Linked DNA regions of Homo sapiens: region 1 is linked to region 2. Evidence: promoter capture Hi-C in 16 types of primary human blood cells and fetal thymus (Javierre and others, 2016). All regions are on one chromosome and are shown on one strand. The core of a region is centred on a gene start or on the middle of the fragment in contact, and the rest is flanking DNA. Distances in the headings are between cores, read along the strand shown.

Region 1 (4,072 bases), core at 390-2,889, 740 kb after region 2:
AATATATCCCAGCAGAGATGATAAATGGCAAATTTCATTTTATTCTTAAGGTCATGTTTTGGATAACTAGACAACCAATCAATCAGGTGATTGATAGTGCCGACGCGCTCCCACGAAGACGGGTGGGCACCAGAAAGTACCTTCCCTCTTCTCCAGAGATGACAAGAACTTCTTCTTTGGGGAGGTTAACCATGTAAATGCTCTGTGTCACTGCTAACAGACATCAACATCTTTTAATAATAGTGGAGGGTGAATTCAGGCAGTTCCTGGAATTTCAAGTGGACGAGGCCTCCCAGAGCAGCTGTCACACCAGCCGCCCATTTGGTAGGCGCTCTGGCATACGTGGATGCTCCAGTGCTGGTCCTGGCATGCTGTTTCTCTTTCTTTTGAAAAAGCACCAGTGACCCCCTTCCTCCTGTGGGTGGAACCAGCCCCTTGTGAGACCACGGCCCCAAAGCTGGAGTGAAGAGGGGCCCATGATTTATTTCTTCAGGTTTCTCCAGGAGCTTGGGTCAACCCCTTGTAGCTGGAGGTTCTTGAGCTGTCCTAGTTTCTACTAAGCTTCCACTTGGACCACTTTAAGTTGGGGTCTTCCACAGGTAGGGGGGCAGAATGGAGGATTAAAATGAGGGAGGAGTCTGTGGTCATACAGTCATTGGGATAGCACCGTGTCATTATCATGTGCCATGATGGATAATCTCTTCAATCTCATGGTCTCCAGGGCCTAAATACCAGTTGTTTCTCTATTCATACAGTTTAGAACTTGATTTCAGTGATTAACACCTCCCTTACCCCTTAGGCCTGCTCTAATAAAGCAAAATAAAACATTTTAGAACTCAAACATAAAATGTGTAGGAGTTGGTTATCTGTGATTAATAAGAAATGGGGTGATATCCTCTTCTGCTGGTTTGTTGCTAAAAAAATTAGCAAGAAAGCTCATTATTGTCAACCTTGTTACCTAGAGTGCAAAAGTTGCAAGTGTTAAGTAGAAGGGTGTGACCACATTTACCTTGGTGGGGATGTGATAGTATTTGGACTTCTTTATCATAGAGGTGAAAAAAAAAAAAAAGAACAGATTCCTCCAGGCTGGGGCTTTTGAGTTGCAGCTTTAAAAGGGTTTGTGTAATGGAGCCTGTTTTATGGTGTGGGAGGGCAGAGCCCTTGAATTTGCGGCTTGACTCCAAGATCCTAGTGGGATTAATTAGGATGCTTCCTGTCGCAAAAGAAGGGAGAGGAAATAAAAAACTCCAAGAACCATGAGGAAAATGTTCTCTTGCACAAGACAAGAGGAAGAAGTGCTGTGGTTGGGCAGCTTCTGGGCTGCTAGACTCCATACCTTTGGTGCTGATCTGTCCACCCTTCCCCTCTGCTGTGGTGGCTTTTGTCAGCATGAAATGCCCAGTGGAAGGCGGGGCCTGTGTCTTCCCACTTGTCTCTTTTGAAGAACAAGGACACCCCAGGCGGGAAACCACCTCCCTGCCCTCTCCTTCTGCCTCCCTCTTCCTGGCCACAGTCACGGTGTGCATTCATGGGTTGAGCATGGTGAACTGGGCAGAAACATGGGAGCCCCCTGAGTCGGGATCCTGCTAGAAAGAAGGCTGCTGGATGCTGAGTGGTGGGTGCACAGGTAGCCAGCCAGCATGGTGTCCCACTGGGGTTTGGGGAACTCACAATACCTTCTGGAGGTGCCATGACTTGTGGTGATTTGCTTAAGCCTTGATTTGGCTCCTGGATTAAGTGCTGCACATATGCTTGCACTGAAGACTTTGGAATAAAATTAATTTCTAAAGGGATAATAGTGATTCTAATGACACATCTTGTTACTATATGTGAATTTATTAATAATAAGACCACAAGAAATTGAGGTCTTAGGTTTTTATACCAAAATATTTCTGTTTTATCATGTCCTCTGTTAAAATAAATAGTACATATCAGTGAAAACCTTGGGAATTGAAGGTTCTGGTGGCGCGCCTCAGAGCAAACGAAGCATCTATCGGTGTGTTAATCGACTTTCCTGGATCATACATTGAGCTGATTTGTCAGAATCCATTAAGCTGGTAGACAGTATGACATTTCAAGTGCAACTTGGAAATCCATGTTATGGTTGAAGGAGAAGGTCAGGTCCATCTCAGTTAATGTTAATCAACGATCAGAGACCAAAATGTCACCATTGAATGTTCTTGTTCATTTTAATTGTTTACCTAATGTAAAGGTTTATCAGCGAACATCAGGAGTGTTTGTACCTGTGAAAATCTAGGACAATTTTCTGATTAAATACTCCTGTATCAGCCACATCTTTTCTCTCAGATTCATTGGGTTCCCCAGCCCCCATCCTCTTTCAGGGACCCACCATTGCTGCAATCCCTGATTACCAAGAAATGCTGGAGGTGCTGGCTCTACCACTTCTTGCAAACCTCACCCTTCTGGAGTAGTCTGTGCCTTAAACATGTGAATATTACTTAAAGGTGTTGGTTAGCCATACCAGGGAGTCCCTAGGGCATAAGGAATAGTGGATGCAAACTCACAGGGTTGCTCCTCAGTGCTTTCACTTTAGCCTTTGTATTTCTGTAAGGACCTCCAGCAGTCTTGAAATTAAAATGTATGAAATCAATTTTCCTTTGCACTTAAAAGAACTGGTTTATACAGTATCATATGTAACTGTGCAAATGTAATTTTTAACATCTGGAAAGATACCATTGACTTCAAGGAAAGCTTTTGCCTTGGCTTACAGAAGTAATTTCTGGCATTGAAAAAGGACTCTTTGAAGGGGAAGTGACAGGACAGCTGCTTCCTTTGGAGCAAATTGGTAACATGTCCAATCAACTCTGTAGGATCCAGGTGGACCCAGAAATGGAACCAGTGACCATCTGGAGACTGACCAGAGGCAGGATCCCACCCCACTTGAAGAGAATAAATCTAAATTACAGGTTCGTTTCTTTCGGGGGCGGGGGGGCGGGGAGGCAACTCAAAACTGTGTATTTTCTTAAAGTTAACTTTAAGAATTGGAACCAAATATTTTTTCTTCTATCAATATTGATTACATATTTTAATTCATATTTCGTGTTGCTAATTGTAAAAAATTAATTGTAAGGTAGTGTTTAAGCTTCTGAACAATCTATAATAGTGTTTTCAATAAAGCAAACTAATATGAGAAAAAAATAAGACATCTAACACTGATTTGATTGAGTTCTATCTCAGTCAAGCACAGTCAAACATAGACGTGATTATCAGAGTATAAGGTCTCAGGTGCTAGGTTCTTGGGGCAGTTGTAAGAAAAGAGAAGGCAGTCTCCATTCTCAAGAGCTGGATGTACCAGCCTAAGCAGACATTGCTGTCTAGACTGTCCTCTATGATATCAAATATTGTGCCAATCTTAAGAAGATGAGTTTTGGGTGTTGCTTTCACTTCAAGCAAAATTGAAAACCCACTCTCTGGAGAAAACAGAGTTGGCAATCTGAAGCCCTTTGGCTTTAGGAAGGCCTCATGTTCCTCTCACATTTCTGCTTTATTGTTTTCACCTCTAAACTCCAAACTCCTTGTTTTTCATGAGTATTTTCCTGCATTCACGATGGCCTCCTTTCTCTCTCATTTCCCAGGATGTAATACCTCAGCCGCTGCTAGATCAGTATGTGTCCATGACTGACCCAGCTCGAGCCCAGACTGTCGATACTGACATAGCCAAACACTGTGCCTACAGCCTCCCAGGGGTGGCACTGACCCTGGGCAGGCAAAATTGGCACTGCCTGAAAGATACATATGAAACACTGGCTTCTGATGTACAGGTAAAAGCCTTTCCAGAGGCACGTGCAGAAAGAGGGTGGGTCATTCATTAGGGAGAAAAGGGAAGCTGCAGCAAGGCTTATTGGCCTGAATTTTATGTGGATGCAAATTGGCATGTTTACTGGTCTCTGATGAAATAAAGCTTTAAGTGGCCAACACCTGGCAGTATTCATTTTGCTCCAAAAATGCCATGTAAGATACGGAAGAGGTTGAATTGCACTTGCTTGTCGTGATTCGTGTGTCTGCTATGCACCCCTAGTGGAAGGTACGGCGAGCCCTAGCCTTCTCCATT
Region 2 (3,718 bases), core at 1,055-3,554:
CAGCTACTTGGAGAATCACTTGAACCCAGGAGGTGGAGGTTGCAGTGAGCCAAGATGGCACCACTGCACTCCAGCCTGGGTGACAGAGTGAGACTCCGTCTCAAAGAAAAAAAAAAAAAAAAAAGGCCGGGTGCGGTGGCTCACGCCTGTAATCCTAGCATTTTGGGAGGCCGGGGCAGGCGGATCACCTGAGGTCAGGAGTTCAAGACTAGCCTGGCCAACGTGGTGAAACACTGTCTCTACTAAAATACAAAAATTAGCCGGACATGATGGCGGATGCCTGTAATCCCAGCTACTCAGGAGGCTGAGACGGGAGAATTGCTTGAACCCAGGAGATGGCAGTTGCAGCGAGCTGAGATCAAGCCACTGCACTCCAGCCTGAGCAGCTAAGCGAGACTCTGTCTCAAAAAAAAAAAAAAAGAAAAAAAGGCTCAAGGTGATATACTAGATGCCCCAAACACCAACCTACCACTAAGCTAATTCACACCTTCTCATCTGGACCACTTTGGTAGTCAGCAATTTGACGAAGTGGCAACGGAGGCAAAGGATGTGGGTTTGGGTCCCCTCTCCTTCCTTTATTAGTTTCATGACCTTGGGCAGGTCAGTAAGTCTTTTCGTCTCATTTTCTACACTTACCAGATAAGTAGGGTAACACCCAACTCAAAATCCTGTGTGTGGAAGGGGATAACGCATGACACACATGGCCCAAGCTCTCAGTTAGCTAAGTCTGACTCTATCCACTCCACCCTAAGCCTCCAACACTGTGAAATGATCCAACATGCAAATCTACTCGTGTCACTCCCTGCCCCAAACTCCTGAACAAGCCATACCATTCAGCAGCTCTCCAAGGATCTTCAGAACCTGCTCCCTACTGACCTCCTGCCACTGCTTCCACCAGGCAGCTAACATCACAGGGCTTCTTTCAGTTCCAGAAACACATCGCCCGCCTTGGCATTTTAGACCATGGCTCCGAAGCCGCCATCACACCACCACCCATGTTTATCAACGTAAGCCCCACTTCATCCTTTATTCCCTTATAATACCACTTCAAAATGCACCAGACATCCCCAATCTTGATTGTTGTTAAAAATGCAAGTTCCTGGGCCACGAGCAGTGGCTCACGCCTGTAATCCCAGTACTTTGGGAGGCAGAGGTGGGTGGATCACCTGAGGTCAAGAGTTTGAGACCAGCCTGGCCAACAAGGTGAAACCCCCTCTCTACTCAAAATTTTAAAAATTAGCTGGGCATGGTGGTGGGTGCCTGTAATCCCAGCTATTCGGGAGGCTGAGGCAGGAGAATCGCTTGAATCCGAGAGGCAGACGTTGCAGTGAGCCGCGATGGCGCCATTACACTCCAGCCTGGGCAACAAGAGCGAAACTCCACCACAAAAAAAAAAAAAAAAAAAAAAAAAAAAAAAAATGCAAGTTCCCAGGCTCCCGTCCAGACCAACTGTTGGGCCGTCTCCAGGGGAGGGACGTGAGAAGCTACATTTCAATCATGCGCCTCAGTTGGGTCTTTAGAGTAAGGTGGGGACACACTGTCCAGACTAGAGCTACCTGCCCTGGCTCTGCAGTCCCTGTCCTCAGGGTGGAACAGTGATCCCTCCTGGGCTTCCACCCCAAACCCTGGAAGGTCAAGGCCCGAAAATCCTTTCCATCAGTTTGCCCAAAAACAGATGAAATCAGCCCAAGGTGCTGAAGAGTACAGTTTATAAAACAGTAAAGCACATGTAGGAATGCCCTAAGTTCTACTTTTTCCTCATGATGCTGCTGTGAAGTTTTTCCACTTTATTTTTGTTTAAAAGTCTGTGAGCTCCGGACCCAACCCTCCACCTTAGCGTTGGTGTCCCGCCCGCCGCGGGGGTCGCAGGGCCGGCGCCGGGCCTGGCCGGAGCGAGGGGGTACTGGGGGCCTCGGGCCGCCCCGCGCCAGAGCCTCCGGCGCCTCACCCCCACCCCAAGGTCCTGCAGGCGAGGAGGCGGGGACCCCGGCGGCCGCGCCGCGGGACCCCGGGCGGGCGGGGGCGGGGCGGGCTGTGCTTGAACCACACGGTGACCGCGCGGGCCGTGCGCGCGCACACCCCCCGCACGCCCGCAGCCTCGCGCCGCGCGGCCTCTCCGGGAGTGGGGCCGGCCCGCCGGCGGCGGAGACGAACGATTCTCTCTAGGGTGCGCCCAGTGCCCCGCCTCACCTGGCCGCCGTCAGCCTCGTCGCCCCACTCGGCCGCGCTCCCGTAGTAGTCCTCGTCCATGATGGCGCCCGGCACGGCCCCCGCCATGCCCTCCCGCGAGCGAGCGCGGCGCATGCGCGAGGCGGGGACGGGCGGGCGGGCGCACGCGCGGCCGCGCGCCTCGGCCCGGGCGGGAGGCGGGGCCTGGAAGAAGGGGCGGGGCCTGGAGGAAGGGCAGGGCCGCGGGCTCGGCACTGGGAACAAAGGGGACCGGCGGAAGGAACGCCCCCAGTCGATCCCGGAGCGATGCCCGGGTGGACCAGGGGCTTAGCTCCGGAGAGAGGTTTCCCACTGGATTCGTGCACAGCCCCTCCCCTGCGGCGCCGGCTCTGCGAGCCCCAGTTTCCTCATCTGGCAGCTGGAAACAAATCCTTCCGGAAGTGTCCAGGACCCACGAAAGTGTTTTAATTTCTTTTAGTTTTGGTAAAAAGTACTAAACGCGACCGGGCGTGGGGGCTCACGCCTGTAATCCCAGCACTTTGGGAGACCGAGGCTGACGGATCACTTGAGGTCAGGAGTTCGAGGCCAGTCTGGCCAACATGGTGAAACCCCGTCTCTGCTCAAAATACAAAAATTAGCCGGGCGTGGTGGCATGCGCCTGTAATCCCAGGTACTCGGGTGACTGAGGCAGGAGAATCGCTTGAACCCGGGAGGCGGAGGTTGCAGTGAGCCAAGATCGCACCATTGCACTCCAGCCTGAGCGACAGAGCGAGACCCTATCTCAAATAAATAAATACATACATAAAAAGGGCAGGGCACGGTGGCTCACGCCTGTAATCCCAACACTTTGGGAGGCCGAGGCGGGCGGATCACCTGAGGTCAGGAGTTCGAGACCAGCCTGGTCAACATGGTAAAACCCCTTCTCTACTAATAACACAAAAATTAGCTGGGCATGGTGGCGGGCGCCTGTAGTCTCAGCTACTCAAGAGGCTGAGTCACGAGAACCGCTTGAACCCAGGAGGTGGAGGTTGCAGTGAGCCAAGATCACACCACCGCACTCCAGCCTAGGCAACAGAGTGAAACTGTGTCAAAAAAAAAAAAAAAAAGAAAAAGAAAAAGAAAGAAAGAAGAAAGAAAGAAAAGAAAAGAAAAAAGAAAAGAGAAGAAAAAGTACTGAATGCAGTGGAAAGTAGCATTTTTAATTTTTTATAAAGTGGAAGATAGGCCCACAAAGCAAAAGTGCCCAGAGCTGACAAAAATCTCTGGAGAAAGGACCTCTCTGGTCGTTGCCAAAGGGAGCAGCTGACGCTGTTGTAAAGCCCGCAGCTCGATTCCCAGCGTGAAGTAGGGGGTGAGAATATGACAGCCTCCTGATGATCACGGAAAGGTTTTTGTTTGGTTGTTGTGTTTTTGTTTTGTTTTAATTTTAGATTCGGTGCGTGTGCAGGTTTGTTACATTGGTATATTGCGTGATGCTTCTAATCCTTTCGGCAACTTTTTCAGCCTTTACCCCCCTCCACACCTTCTGCCTTTTGGAATACCCCATGTC

The links. Contacts are between HindIII fragments. The CHiCAGO score rates a contact against its expected background, and 5 or more counts as called.
Region 1: a contact is called between a fragment that was not itself captured here and the fragment with the promoter of NELFCD in region 2, in 1 of 17 cell types (neutrophils). The highest score is 5.4, in neutrophils.

What each region holds. Positions count from the first base shown.
Region 1 is chr20:58,239,370-58,243,441 of GRCh38, reverse strand. It overlaps the pseudogene PPP4R1L. Among named protein-coding and RNA genes, the nearest start is that of ANKRD60, 13 kb to the right of the region's middle. RefSeq lists an enhancer at 1,478-1,978. The HindIII fragment of the contact is 2,151 bases long and covers 564-2,714 here.
Region 2 is chr20:58,979,842-58,983,559 of GRCh38, reverse strand. NELFCD (negative elongation factor complex member C/D) reads right to left here and starts at 2,304. Exons shown (of 15, transcript NM_198976.4): 1 at 2,191-2,304. The coding sequence starts at 2,250. RefSeq lists an enhancer at 1,546-2,046 and a silencer at 1,969-2,448. The HindIII fragment of the contact is 8,660 bases long and covers 1-3,718 here.